Regions from separate parts of the Homo sapiens genome. Here regions 2, 3, 4 and 5 are each linked to region 1. The links are contacts of gene promoters, found by promoter capture Hi-C in blood cells and fetal thymus (Javierre and others, 2016). All regions are on one chromosome and are shown on one strand. Each heading gives the region's core, a stretch centred on a gene start or on the middle of the fragment in contact. The rest is flanking DNA. Distances are from core to core; before and after follow the strand shown.

Region 1 (2,865 bases), core at 170-2,669:
AGGCCTTTTACAAATACTGCTAAAATATTTATATGATAGTATTAAAGAGATCAAATCTTTCTCTAAAGACCTTGTAAATACCGTGTATCCCCTGGTCCTCTTATTTCTTGACAAGAAATAAAATTTGGCTGGGCACAGCGGCTCACGCCTGTAATCCCAACCCTTTGACAGGCCGAGGCAGGAGGATGATTTGAGGTCAGGAGTTTAAGACGAGCCTGGCCAACACGGTGAAACCCCGTCTCTACTAAAAATACAAAAAAAAAATCAGCCGGGGTGTGGTGGAGCGCGCCTGTAATCCCAACTACTGGGGAGGCTGAGGCAGGAGAATCGCTTGAACCCGGAAGGCGGAGGTTGCAGTGAGCCAAGATCACGTCACTGCACTCCAACCAGGGTGACAGAGCGAGACTTCACCTCCAAAAAAAAAGAAATAAAATTTACTTGAAATCCTACATCAAATTTCAAGGGAACAGAAGCGTTCCCCATACATCTGAAAATGAGTTTCACAGTGTATACACTTCAAAATGTAAAAGGCATGCCTAATTCCTCAATGCTGAAATGTAATTAGATTCCAATTTCCATTTTAAGCATTTCTTCCAAGTTTTAACCAGGTTTGCCAATCCTGATATTTTACAGAGTAGAATTAGAAGACAATTTATTCAGATCAAAATAAAAGAATTAACATCTGCATCCCCCTTTTCCCAGGGACCAAAGTAATTCTTAAAAGTACAGCCACCTCATAAAAGTAGAACAAGCTCAAAGTCAGGTTAACCTGGCTCTTTCGGTTCTATTTCCAGGTGCTGCATCCAATTTTTTGCAAATTAACACTTCTAAGCTTCTACTCAAGGGCAGAAAAGGAACTACATATAGTTGTCACCACAAACCCTCTGGATTTGGAACTACCATAAAAGTAAGCACTTTCCAGCCGTTCTCCTGGACTCGCGGAGGCTGAGGACCCCGGGGCCCTCGGCCTGCTACTTCTGCAAGCCCCGCAGAGGGGGCTCCTCCCGCGCTCCAGCCACGGACACCTGGGAGAGGTCGCGAAGAGCCGCTGGGGCTCCCCAGGCCCGACACGACGCCCGCCCTCCCCGCCTCACTTGGGACACCAGACCTCGGACGCCCTACCTGCGCTCGACCCGGACGCCGGAGAAGGCGCGCGGCTCCCGAAGGCCCCGTACTCCAGCCGGCTACCGGCCCCGAAGGCCCGCTGCTGGAGGACGCCCGGGAGACAGAGGCCCGGGGACCTCGGAGCGCGGCGGCCGCACACAATGCAGTCCTCCTTCCGCAGAGAGGCAGTTCGACCGCCCACGGGCTGCCCAACGCCAGAAACAGCATCACGCGGGTGACGAGCGGCTGCGGACGCCCCAGCTGCACGAGTCCACGACTGCGAGACACGGCTTCCCACCCGACTGCCGCACAAGTGGCGCATGCCCAGCCCGGGACGCCTGACTGGCAGCTGGGCTGCCTGCGCGTGCGCAGAATCTGCCGCCCGCCTGCCGCCCGCCTGCCGCCCGCCTGCCGCCCGCCTGCCGCCCGCCTGCCGCCCGCCTGCCGCCCGCCTGCCGCCTTCCCGGCCGCGCGCGTTATCCGCCAGCTGAGCTGGGAGCCCGCCGCTCTGTCCTTGGCTCAGCGGCTCCTCCTTCCTAGAATTTTACCTTCTTTATAACAGTGTGGAGGGGCAGAGGGCTGTACGAGAATGACAATGCCCAGAAGCCAGGGTTAAATATTTTTTTTTCTCGTGGACGACATCACTAAAAACTGTTTCCTTTGCGGAAAATGATTCTAGCCTGTTGGCACAGAAGAAAGAATATACGATTTGAACAAAAATGAGTGATAACTTAATTGAATCATCGGGTTGGAGGAAAATAAATGGAATTGTTCATGTAATATTGATAGGTGTTACCAGATTTGTCTTCGGAAATCATTCACATCCATATACACATTGATTCATTACTTGTTAAAGAGGTACTGAATCTATTGCCAGGACTGAGCTAGGAGCAGAGGATACAAAATACTAGATTAAACTGGGAATCCACAGTGCTTAAACAGTGGAGGAAAATACCTGAAAATTGGCTAGAATATAATGTAATACAATTGAGACACCGCAATATACAAAATGTGGCTGGCCGTGGTGGCTTACACCTGTAATCCCAGCGCTTTGGGAGGTTTAGGCAGGAAGATCTCTTGAGGCCAGGAGTTTGAGACCAGCCTGAGCAATACAGGGAGACCCCGTCTCTACAAAAAAAAAAAAAAAAAAAAAACCTAAAACAAAAATAAGCCACACATGGTAAGTGTGTGCCTGTGGTCCCAGCTACCCAGGAGGCTGACATGGTAGGATTGCTTGAGCCCAAAGTCGAGGCTTCAGTGAGCCAAGACCACACTACTGCACTCCAGCCTGGACCACAAAGTGACACCGTGTCTCAAAAAAAAGAACAAACAAATGCCACAGAAGTACAAAGAAGAACATGATTAATTTTGCCTCAGAATGTCTTCAGACTGGCTTCACATTTAGCTCAGTCTTGAAGGATGAGCATCTTAGTAATAGAAACACACTTTTGTTTACCACTGCAGAACTATACATGTTTTTGATTTGACATGTTATTTGCACCGGAGAGGAACAAATTCATAGTCTAAAATAATGTGTGGCCAGGGGCGGGAGCTCACGCCTGCAATTCCAATACTACGTGGAGGCCCAGGTGAGAGGATCACTTGATTCCAGGAGTTTGAGACCAGCCTGGGCAACAAAGTGAGACCCTGTCTCTACAAAAAATTTTTAAATTAGCTGGGCATGGTGGCACCTGCCTGTAGTCCCAGCTACTTGGGAGGCTGAGGTGGAAGGATCACTTGAGCCCAAGAGGTTGAGGCTGC
Region 2 (2,812 bases), core at 181-2,680, 7.9 Mb before region 1:
CCCCCTGCCCAACCTTCTAGGCCCTTGGTATCTGGGCCTAGTCTTCATTTCCATAGGAGTACAACTTTGTAACTTAACTTTAGCCTCTGATTGGTTGCAGGCTACTCCTTAATTTACAGAGGGTGTAAACCAAGTAACCAATGGGAAATCTCTAGCGGATATTTAAACTCCAGAAAATCCTGTAACCAGGGCTCTTGAGCCACTGGCTGGAGGCCATTCCCACTCTGTGGAGTGTACAGTCATTTCAATCTCTGCTTTCCTTGCTTCATTCTTTCCTTGCTTTCTTTGTGCGTTTTGTCCAATTCTTTGTTAAAAAAACCAAGAACCTGGATGACTTGTAGTCAAGACCCTCCATGGGTAACATTGGGACTATACAAAAGCCTTAGAAATCGTGGAATGATTTTTCAACCACATTATCTGATTCTAATGATGAACAGACCTGTAGACCGGTCTGAATCTTGGGATTTGCCTATCAAAAAACTCGGCTTTCCCTACTGCACAGGTCTTCAGAAGCGCATGTCTAACAAGGCTAATATTCCATCATCGGGATCAAATTGCTCACCGGATAGTAAAAAGACACTACAGAATTTCAGGGGTTCTCTGCCAATGAGAACTTCTGAATTATGTAGAACGGATCAGCTACTAAGCAGTGTTCTATCTTCCTACTCTTCTAATCGATTGTCATCCCTTAAAGCGCTGCTAATTCTAGAAAACAATCTATAACCTGTTAGAATCAGCGCAAGCTGGTGATGACTACAAGTCCCATGATGCAAAGTATGAGCACGGACCAATGTTGGTCGCAGTTCCTTCTGGGAATTGTAGTCTTCTCCTGTTTGGCAAACTAGGTATTGTAGCCTCCATTTCTCAGAAGTTCAGTTGGAAAACTAAAGATAGTGCAGAGAATGTCGATTTCCTGCCACAAGATTACATTTATCTTCGCTACCTGAGCGCCCAGCCGATCAACTCCAGTCGCTCCTCCGGTGGGCGGGCGCCCATGCCGTGACATCACTTCCGGCAGAGATGTGTGTGTGACGCTCTCTCTCTCTCTCTCTCGCTCTCGCTCTCTCCCTCGCTCGTTTTCTTTCTCTTTCTCTCTCTCTCTCTCTCTCTCTCTCTCTCTCTCTCTCTCTCTCTCTCTCTCTCTCTGTCTCTCGCTCTTGCCCTCTCTCTCTCTCTTTCTCTCTGTCTCTGTCTCTCTCTCTCTCTCTCTCTCTCTCTCTCTCTCTCTCTCCCTCCCTCCCTCCCTCCCTCCCTCTCTCTCTCTCTCTCTCCCCCCCCCCCCCCCCCCGCCCAGTTCGGCCCCTCCTTCCACACAGCAGGGATCTTGGGCCCGGGCAGAGACTGGCTGAGGCGGGGAGCAGCTGCTTTTGGGGCGGGGGTGTCACGTGAGGCTTCTCGCTGCTGAGGGAGGAGGCGAAAAGCTGCGGTTAAGGAGAGTCCGGTTTAACCGTCACCGGGAAGCGCGCTCGTTCGGGATCGCCGAGGGGGCTGAGGTAAAGACTGGGTCATTACCTCAGGACAGGCGGTCGCTGTCCCGGGTTCTCGTACGGGTGACACCTGCAACCTTGATGTCTGGCGGGCGGCAAGGGGCTCCGCGGGAGAGTGGAGAGGCGCCGCAGGAAGCCCAGCCACCTTCAGGCCACCGCCGACCCCACTGTGCGTCTGGGAGGCGCTGGGCGCGCACCGGTCAGCGGAGGCGGGAGAGTCTGTGATCCCAGGGAGCTGCGGGTCTCGCCGCCTGCAGTGCGGAAGACCCGTGACCGGCGCAGACCCCGGCCTTACCTTCCGAGGGTCGAACTGTGCCTGGTATTTGCCTCTTTCCTCCCGCCCACGGGGTTGCTCAGAGTCGGGCCACCTCACCTGAGGTTTTCCAGAGTGAGAATGAACTGAGCGTCCTGGGAGCAACTCCGCATCAGGGTAGAGGCGAAGACGCTCCTAATGAGCACAGCACGTTTTTTTGTTTGTTTGTTTGCTTGTTTTGTTTTTTTAACGCTTGGGTAGCGCTCACATCTTCGGACGTCAGTGGTTGTGTTGATATGTATTGATATGCGACCTCCCCCCAGCCAGGCGGCCTCAGGTAGTAGAGTGGCAAAGGCCAGGTAGATCCCTCGGACCTTGAGAAGGTTGAGATTTCAGACTTACTTGTTTTTGGGGAGGCCGTCAGGCGGAACCGAGGAGCGGTGAATCAGCAGCTAAAGTTTCATGAATCTTTGATAATGGGGAAATGTTGCCGAGAGCCACTTGAGTTAAAAATCTTTTTTTTTTTTTTTTTTGAGACGGAGTTTTCCTCTTGTAGCCCAGGCTGGAGTGCAATGGCACGATCTCGGCAAACTGCAACCTCCGCCTCCCGGGTTCAAGCGATTCTCCTGCCTCAGCCTCCCAAGTAGCTGGGATTATAGGCCTGCGCCACCATGCCCGGCTAATTTTTGTATTTTTAGTAGAGACGGGGTTTCACCATGTTGGCCAGGCTAGCCTCGAACTCCTGACCTCAGGCGATCCACCCGCTTCATCCTCCCAAAGTGCTGGGATTACAGGCGTGAGCCACAGCGCCCAGCCCAGAGTTAAAAATCTTATTTCAGCATCTTTCCAAGTCCAGGTGACTCATTTCTTACCTTTCCCACCAGTAGAGTTTCGTATGAAAAGTTGGGCAGTTATTGTTGTGTGTAGTCTTGTCATTTTGTTGGTCTGTAGTTGTTACAGTTTCTTATGAGTTTATTATTTAACAAAGTAATAGTAAACCATTTCTTCTTTGTGTTATGATACTATTCTGACACAAGATATACTGGTCCGTTTGATAACAGATTCTTGAGTG
Region 3 (2,759 bases), core at 45-2,544, 7.3 Mb after region 1:
GCCTCAGCGTCCCAAAGTGCTGGGACTACAGGCGTGAGCCACCGCGCCCGGCCGGGATTTTTTGGTAAGCAGCAGCGTAAAAATCACTCTCAAGGTTTGAGATTGGGATCCAGCATAACTGGTGACTTGACCTTGGGCAAGTCACTTAATTCCTTTTAGTCTCAGTTTCCCTGATTGTAAATGAAGTCAACACCACCTGGTAAAGGTATTACAGGACTGGTGTGAGGATGAGATGATACATGTGAACATATTATTAAATATGTAAACTATAAGGCAATAGTAAGCAAATGCTAGTTACTATTCTATGTAATACAGGCCTAACCTTTCCTGCCTATGTCCTGATCTGTAAAAAGAAGACAGGTTGAGATCTGAATGTCTATCCACTCACTTATCAGCTGCGTGAACTTTAGCAAGTCATTTCCTTTCTGGGCCTGTTTCCTAAGAAGGTTATTTTTTAAGATCAAATGATATCGTGTTATGCAAATGCTGTCCAGACACATATTAAGAACTTAACACATGATGGCTCTTATTATTCTCTGGGGAGTAGGGTGGTAAAGAGCAAATGAAATTAAACCTAGTTAAGAGAATTTGTATATGCACACAAAACTCTACAGACATCCAAGGTACCGTTATTTGCACTGTAAACTGCCAAAACATGCAGGAAACGAGAAATCAAATGGCGCCTCAGTGATTCGCACTAGAGAGGGGGAGAAGGCAGAGCTTCCGAGAATCAACTGTTTTCCCCCTTATGGCCTCCAGCCTAGATTAGACCATTTATTCAACTTCCCAGCCCCCAATATCCCTGGACATTTATTTACTGTACCTTTTTCACTGAGAGCCTTTCCACTCCCCTCCCCTTCTAGTAGTCGTGAACTTCAGACCCTCGCTTCGACTCCCACTGCCATAACTGTTTTTAACCAAGCTTCCCTGAATCCTCCCCTCCGCCTAAGGAGGAAGTGCAGCTAGACGCACCGCACGGCATCCTAGGAAATGTGGTCTCTCAGACTCTTTGCCTTGGGCTGCAGAGTGGGGAAGACGACGAAGGAGAGCCCAGTAAAACTACAACTACCGGCAGGCAACGCGAGTCACCATCTTTCTTTCGCCCCTTTTCCTGTTGCCGTCCTCTTCCTCCTCTCCTCTAGCGCTGAACCGCTTGGCCTCACGGTACTTGTAGTTCCTTCTGGACTCAAGATCCTAGGGCTTGATGGCCAGCACAGAGGCTGGAAGACTCTAATTCCCAGAGGGCAGAGCGGAAGCTGCGCCTGCGCACACTCAATGAGGGCGTGTATGTCTGTGTCTGAGGGAGAGAGAGCGAGAGTGAGTGAGTGTGAGTGCGGGGTGGGGTGGTGGCCGTTACGTTCGGGGCAACGGCTACGGCAGTGGAGAAGTAAGAAGAGAAACAACGTCCGGCGCTTCCGCCTTCGCTTAGGAGGAGGAAGAGCTGGTAGGGAAAGGAAAGTGCTTCGCCCTGGGCCTGGACTGGACCGAGTCGGGTTGGTGGGGGTCTGGGCTATGAGCTTTTGAGGGTCGCCTGGGACGCGGAGCGAGACACGAGAGCCAGGAGCTATGTCTCAGCCGCCGCCGCCGCCGCCTCCGTTGCCGCCGCCACCTCCTCCCCCTGAGGCTCCACAGACTCCGTCGTCCTTGGCGTCGGCGGCTGCTTCGGGGGGGCTTTTGAAGCGGAGAGACCGGAGAATCCTTTCCGGGAGCTGCCCGGATCCGAAGTGTCAGGCGCGTCTATTTTTCCCGGCCTCCGGTTCTGTCAGCATCGAGTGTACCGAGTGCGGCCAGCGGCACGAGCAGCAACAGCTGCTGGGGGTTGAGGAGGTGACCGACCCGGACGTAGTGCTACACAACCTGCTGCGGAACGCGCTGCTCGGGGTTACGGGGGCACCCAAGAAGAACACGGAACTGGTAAAGGTGATGGGCCTTTCCAACTATCACTGCAAATTGTTGTCGCCCATATTAGCTCGCTATGGAATGGACAAACAGACAGGCCGGGCCAAGCTTCTCCGGGACATGAACCAGGGCGAACTGTTCGATTGCGCCTTACTGGGTGACCGCGCCTTCCTCATAGAACCAGAGCATGTTAACACTGTGGGCTATGGCAAGGACCGCTCCGGAAGCCTCCTGTATTTGCATGACACTCTGGAGGACATTAAGCGGGCCAATAAAAGCCAGGAATGTCTCATTCCAGTGCATGTGGACGGGGATGGACACTGCTTGGTGCATGCTGTGTCTCGGGCTCTAGTAGGCCGAGAGCTCTTCTGGCATGCCTTAAGAGAGAATCTTAAACAGCACTTTCAGCAGCACCTGGCCCGATATCAAGCTCTGTTCCATGACTTCATTGATGCTGCTGAGTGGGAGGACATTATCAATGAGTGTGACCCTCTGTTTGTACCACCTGAGGGTGTTCCCTTGGGCCTGAGGAATATCCACATATTTGGTCTTGCCAATGTGCTACATCGTCCTATTATTCTGTTAGATTCCCTCAGTGGCATGAGAAGCTCTGGTGATTATTCAGCCACCTTTCTACCTGGGCTCATCCCTGCAGAGAAGTGCACTGGGAAAGATGGTCATTTGAACAAACCAATCTGTATTGCATGGAGCAGCTCCGGTAGAAACCATTATATCCCCTTGGTAGGCATAAAAGGGGCTGCTTTGCCCAAACTGCCTATGAATTTGCTTCCTAAAGCATGGGGTGTGCCTCAGGACCTTATTAAAAAGTACATAAAACTTGAAGAGGATGGTGGTTGTGT
Region 4 (2,724 bases), core at 56-2,555, 7.4 Mb after region 1:
AACTGTTAAAAAAAAAAAAGCCAGTGTGTTTAGGTTTTGACAGCAGTGCATGCAAGCTTCTCTCTTAATTCAGCTCCTCTTAATTCACTCTGCACCTGCATCTGATTTGCAAAAGATGAAGCGTAAAATTTCAAAATAGCAAGTGTTTGTTACAGTGTTAACATGTGGCTCAGTGCTCTATGCAATAGACCATGTTGCCTTGCAAATTTTCCTTAGCCAAGTGTAATTGTTACTGTAGCAAATCTACTTTAATGCTACTTGAAATGAACAGTTCGTAGTTATTAGACTGGAACCTCAAGTAGCTGCAACCGCTAGAAACTCCTCCGGTGGTTCCCCCCTCCCTGGTCTCTCCAGAGGGAAGAAGGTCACCTTCTACACTTAACTACCATGCTCATTCATCTGGACGAAATGCCCAGTCCACTGTCTTCTTCACGCGTTATTCTCCAGGACAGGGCTCCTCCGCCGCGCACGTTATTTCCTGTAGAGCGGGCACGAAATTAAGCACCTTGAAGACCAGCGGTAGACACAGATTATCTCCGGTTCCAAGCACGTCTCCCGCTAGGAACTTTTTTCACTTGTCACTCTTCTGCTGCTTTTTGAGGAAAACAGGTGATATTTGGTTTCCTGCCAGAGTCTTCGTCACTCTCGTAACTATGATGTCTGGGTAAAAATAGCTCACATTTTTGCTTAAAAAATAACGGCCGCGCAAATTTATGGTTAGATTTGTCTCAAGTCTGAAGACCGCGCATCCTAACTAGTGAGGCGGAAGACACCTAAGGAGCCAGGAGCTGTCGCCGAGGCGAGGCTGCGGAGACGTTCCCTTGGTGGGCCGCGGGACCACCCACCCCGCCAGAAACTCGGTTCGCTCACCCTAAGAATTTTGGGGCAACTGGACTTCTCCACCGCCCGCTTCCGGACCCGCTCCGGCGCCGCTTCCGGACCCACTCCTCGGCGAGCGCAGGAACTCGCTCTCCCAGCAGGCCCCGCGCGGTGCGCCTCTCGGCGCGTTCCGGGTCCTATGACAGCTCGGCTCGCATGCGCCACCTACGGCCCCACCCGCGGCCCCACCCCCTGGCTCCCGGCTCCTTCCCCGACTCCCGCGAGTTCCAGTCCCAGCTTCCAGCTCCCCAGCCCCGCCCTCAGCCGCGCGCGCTCTCCCCTCCCCGCCCTCGCTTCTTCGCGTGCGGCCCCCACAGCCAATGAGGTTCAGGGCCGCGTGCGCAGATTCAAACGGCGGCTCTTGAGGGAGGCTGGGCGCGAGATTCGGCGGTGCGGACAAAACCCTGCAGGAGACTGCGAGCCCTGCAGAACTGCTAGCTGCGGGGGAGAGGGCAGGGGTCGGGCGCCTGTGGCGGAGCCGGGCTGGGGCCAGGGCAGGGAGGCTGACAAGCGGCGGGAGAAGCCGGCGGAGGGCGGGATCGCGCCTCCTGACATGTTGGGGGTATCCCTGGCCGGGCCGGGCCGGGGCTAAGAGCGGCGCTGCGGGCCGGGGTCGGGGTCGGGTCGCGGTCCGCCCCCGCTGTCCCTCCGTCCTGCCCTGTCGAGGACGTGCGTTCCGCACTCGGCCGCCTCCAGAGGGAGCGAGGGAAGCGGCTAGAGGATCGGGGAGAAGGAGCATTCGCCGGAGGCTGGAGGAGGCTGACCCGCGTCCCCGCCCAGCCTGCTCCTATGCGGTACTTGAAGGATGGCGAAGAGGTCGCGCAGGTGGGTGGCACCCCTTTCGCCCAGGCCTGTCGGCGCCGTCTCGGCTCAGATTCTCTTTCCTATCCCGCTGCCCCCTCCCGCCATAAGGCCCTCCCTGGCGAGGGCAGAGGTTTTTCTTCCCGCGTCCCCGCGGCCGCTTGGCCTCGATGACCGGAGGGCAGCTGCGACGTGTGGAGAGTTGGGGACCAGGGTGTTTGAGGCGCGGGACGTAAGAGATGCCCAGGTTTCTCGGTGACTCTCCCCGTAATGCGCGTCCAGATTTCTGACCTCATGCTGCCACTTCTTCGAGGCAGGTTTCTTGCCAGGTAAGTCGAGCGCTTTTAGGGAGTCCGCTACGCAGAGAAAACTGACTGTGTCCTGCCGGGAGGACTTGAAAATGGTGTTCGGGCGACTCTTTTCTGAATGACGGTACAGTCAAAATAGGAACTCCGCGGTGAACCTGGGCGGCCACCCCTCTGCCAACTTGGCTATCTTGAAACGTTGTGGAAAATCCTCTGGGGAATAGCTGAGAGGACTTTTTTGATGTTTTCTGTAATTCCTATACCCATATGCTCAGCTTTATGTATATATGTATATTTTAATATCCTCTCTTGGGACCATGTCACATAGTAACAACTAGTAGTAACAACTAGTAGCTTGATCTTGAAATAAAACAATGTGTTTGATTCACTTAATATTTTGAGTGTCTGTGTTTGGCTCTGACCGTACCTAAGTGTTCCACAGAGGTAAGGCACTTTTTTCCACCTTTGCCTGGAAAATGTGCTAGGATGAATTTATGCATCTAATTTTCGTTTACATGCCATTACAGCAGCTACTCATAAATTATGTGGAGTAATTGCTTAGATAACAAAAATATAGGATGTCTTCCGATTTTCAGCATTATCAAATAAACCTGAAAAGATGTTTGGCAGGATTTCCAAATATTTATTTATCTAGATCCACAGCCCCAAAATCTTAACTAGAGATGTATTTCCTAAGTTGAAATTTAGTAATGGGGGTCATTCATTGCAGAGTTCTGCT
Region 5 (2,792 bases), core at 161-2,660, 7.7 Mb before region 1:
TTTGGTCTGGGACTGTTGTCTTTTGGCTTTGCCACTGCGACCTACGGCCAGCTACTTTCCCATACTTTTTTTTACTTATCTGTTACGTAGCTGTCAGGAGGAGTTGGGGGAGGTCAACTCGCCCAACTAGTGTTCACGTGGATGTGTGTCCGGAAGAAGGCCCTTCCTTAGCTTTTATCAAATTCTCAAAGGCATCCTGATCCTCAGATTATTCCACCAAATGGTCATCATGCTCTCCCAGCTCTGTCATTCCCTGATTCTCATTATTATTGTTTGAACAAACATTTACAGATTATTGATTTTGGTGCTTGGACCACATAAGGGTGTAAACTACAGTCTTTTACACGGAAGACCTTTCCAACTAGTAAGCTGCATTTTAGAGAGAATTAGTTAATAATATGGCAATGGGCTCTCCCCATTGCACTGAGAGACCTTGGGATATACCTAGTCCAAGGTGATGTGGCATTGGCTTCAGGATGCCATACACCTTGAAAAGGCAAGTTTTTGAAGCATTAGAACCACACAGACTGCTCAGTCGTTGTTACTAGGTTTCACACACTACATAAGGTAGCAAACAGGTTTAATCTCCCCTTGGAACTTCAGTCATTGGTATCAAGTGCCTGAATTACCGTGTCAAAGACTCTTGAGATTTAGCCCAGTTTCAGTGGAGTTCCATAATTGATTAGTGATTTCTACTGTGGGAATGCGTGATAGGACAGGTGACACAATCCCTTCTAGGTTCTTGTTACTTATAGCCATCTATCTATCTATCTTTCACCACTGGCTGTAATAACAAGCCAGTGTGACTTTTTTCATGTGGAAGCTTAGCCATTTGGGTTTTGACTGTGAATTATGTGTGTCTATGCCTGATCCTTCGCTAGTGAGTCCAATACACATTATATGCCATTCATGACATAGTTCATTTTCCTTTCCAGCTATATATGTCTTTAGTGTCAATAACTGAGATGAGGCCAGGCCTATCTGTTTGGGACTAGTGGAAAGCAGTTAAGATTTAGACTACGTCAAGTGTATATCCTAAATTTTATCTACCTTCTGGAGGGATTGAAGGATGGTATCAGGTGCTGGGAAGTTGTCTTGACTTAACTCTTTCCCCTGGGTCCTTCTGGTTTGCATCTAATACTTGATTATTAAAAGTCGCAAAATATTAAGCATCTCCACCCAGTCACTGCAGTATTGTCCTTTTTTGTTTGTTTGTTTGTTTTGTTTTGAGATGGAGTCTGGCTCTGTCACCCAGGATGGAGTGCAGTGGCGCGATCTCGGCCCTCTGCAACCTCTGCCTCCTGAATTCAAGCGATTCTCCTGCCTCAGCCTCTTGAGTAGCTGGAATTACAGGCATGAACCACCACGCCCAGCTAATTTGTGTGTGTGTGTGTGTGTGTGTGTGTGTGTGTGTGTGTGTGTGTTTTCAGTAGAGATGGGGTTTCGCCATGTTGGCCAGGCTGTTTTCAAACTCTTGACCTCAGGTGATCCGCCCCCCTCGGCCTCCCAAAGTGCTGGGATTACAGGCTTAAGCCACTGTGCCTGGCCCCTTGCAGTACTGTTCTGAGTTGAGTATACTCAAAAGAAGTTAATTGTTGTATTATTCTTATTAATTATAGTTACTGTATTACTATTCTGATCTTTCATATATATCTCATTTGGTTTCTGTAAGTACACTGTGAGGTCGGTGTGGCATACAGCATAGATACAGATATAGATACACATGCATACACACATATACATATATACACAGAAAGGATGTGCTTGTATCTTTATATCTGTCTCTGTATCTACCTGTCTATATCTTTCTATTTTTCTTACCCAATAAAAGAGCTTTGGTTTTGTATATGTTTATTTACATACATATATAGAAACACACACACATATACTTTATACTAACTGTACTATATATTACATCAAATTATATATATTTGAAATACCATAAATCTTATAGGTGTATATATAAATATAAATATATTTGAATATAGTCAAGCTTTGGCGATATATATATATATATGTTGTTCACACACATATATATTAGTACACAGATATAAATATATATATTTATTGGATATATATAAAAATATATATATCCAAAGTTTTACTGTTAAGTAACTTGCCTAGCACTGTTAGATTAGTAAGCAGTGGAATCAGAATTGAATCCCAGGTTTTTCACTCCAAATGCGGAATTTTTGCAGTATACAGTCATCAAAAACAACACCTAGTAAATCTGGGAAACAAAACAAAAAAGAAAAAGAAAACCACTAGAACTTATTTTTGTCTGACTTAGTAAAGTTACAAGTAACATCTATTAATACCTTATGTTAATCCAATTACTTTCTGTCAGTTATTGAAGTTGTGATTAATTTTGTTAGAGTGGTTACATAGTGCTTGCTACACTAGGATATTAGTCAAAATGGGAAGTTTTTCCATAGAGGTTGTCTTCTTGCTTAAGAAAACTAAATCAAAATCAGATACTGACCAGTATATACATTTTCTCTCAATTTTAGATTTTCTTCCATTTGTGTGTGATGATTGTTCAGGAATATTTTGGTAAGTTAAGTTTTTATGCAGGATTTGGGAGTAATTTTAGTGTTTATTAATATGAGGTTATTTCTGAAAAGTAGAATGATTTAAAATAATTGTTACTTTAGCCATTGATTATTGATATTCAGTATAGTTATAGACTCTGATTACTTCTCCATATATATGACTGATTTTTAAACTTCCAAAAGTGGGGTTATGTATGTGAATTTTATATAAAAGTTATATTTTTGTCTTTTAATTACAAG

Evidence for each region. The method cuts DNA at HindIII sites, captures the fragments that hold promoters and counts their contacts. A CHiCAGO score of 5 or more calls a contact.
Region 2: a contact is called between the fragment with the promoter of SNX16 here and the fragment with the promoter of TMEM70 in region 1, in 2 of 17 cell types (neutrophils and non-activated CD4 T cells). The highest score is 9.0, in neutrophils.
Region 3: the fragment with the promoter of VCPIP1 here is called in contact with the fragment with the promoter of TMEM70 in region 1 in 1 of 17 cell types (M0 macrophages); the score reaches 6.2 in M0 macrophages.
Region 4: a contact is called between the fragment with the promoter of MYBL1 here and the fragment with the promoter of TMEM70 in region 1, in 1 of 17 cell types (non-activated CD4 T cells). The highest score is 5.2, in non-activated CD4 T cells.
Region 5: a contact is called between a fragment that was not itself captured here and the fragment with the promoter of TMEM70 in region 1, in 1 of 17 cell types (non-activated CD4 T cells). The highest score is 6.0, in non-activated CD4 T cells.

Annotation. Positions count from the first base shown.
Region 1 is chr8:73,974,749-73,977,613 of GRCh38, reverse strand. TMEM70 (transmembrane protein 70) reads right to left here and starts at 1,419. Exons shown (of 3, transcript NM_017866.6): 1 at 1,123-1,419. The coding sequence starts at 1,332. RefSeq lists silencers at 1,071-1,120, 1,286-1,501, 1,551-1,630. The HindIII fragment of the contact is 7,182 bases long and covers 835-2,865 here.
Region 2 is chr8:81,840,803-81,843,614 of GRCh38, reverse strand. It overlaps SNX16 (sorting nexin 16), which reads left to right and starts at 1,430. Exons shown (of 8, transcript NM_152836.3): 1 at 1,430-1,493. It overlaps LINC02235 (long intergenic non-protein coding RNA 2235), which reads right to left and starts at 996. Exons shown (of 8, transcript NR_170320.1): 1 at 944-996. RefSeq lists enhancers at 746-1,015, 1,447-1,496, 1,424-2,356 and a silencer at 1,827-1,876. The HindIII fragment of the contact is 7,243 bases long and covers 1-2,812 here.
Region 3 is chr8:66,665,766-66,668,524 of GRCh38, reverse strand. It overlaps VCPIP1 (valosin containing protein interacting protein 1), which reads left to right and starts at 1,294. Exons shown (of 3, transcript NM_025054.5): 1 at 1,294-2,759. The coding sequence starts at 1,567. It overlaps C8orf44-SGK3 (C8orf44-SGK3 readthrough), which reads right to left and starts at 929. Exons shown (of 19, transcript NM_001204173.2): 1 at 824-929. It overlaps C8orf44 (chromosome 8 putative open reading frame 44), which reads right to left and starts at 929. Exons shown (of 2, transcript NR_161217.1): 1 at 824-929. RefSeq lists enhancers at 697-1,206, 1,577-2,096, 2,347-2,406. The HindIII fragment of the contact is 1,085 bases long and covers 925-2,009 here.
Region 4 is chr8:66,611,799-66,614,522 of GRCh38, reverse strand. It overlaps MYBL1 (MYB proto-oncogene like 1), which reads left to right and starts at 1,305. Exons shown (of 16, transcript NM_001080416.4): 1 at 1,305-1,704. The coding sequence starts at 1,685. It overlaps LOC105375884 (a long non-coding RNA gene), which reads right to left and starts at 974. Exons shown (of 2, transcript XR_929015.3): 1 at 871-974; 2 at 1-478. RefSeq lists enhancers at 459-508, 519-598, 649-788 and a silencer at 1,019-1,538. The HindIII fragment of the contact is 2,770 bases long and covers 59-2,724 here.
Region 5 is chr8:81,717,943-81,720,734 of GRCh38, reverse strand. ZFAND1 (zinc finger AN1-type containing 1) reads left to right here. Exons shown (of 8, transcript NM_024699.3): 2 at 2,511-2,553. Among named protein-coding and RNA genes, the nearest start is that of ZFAND1, 2.0 kb to the left of the region's middle. RefSeq lists an enhancer at 1-401. The HindIII fragment of the contact is 1,170 bases long and covers 826-1,995 here.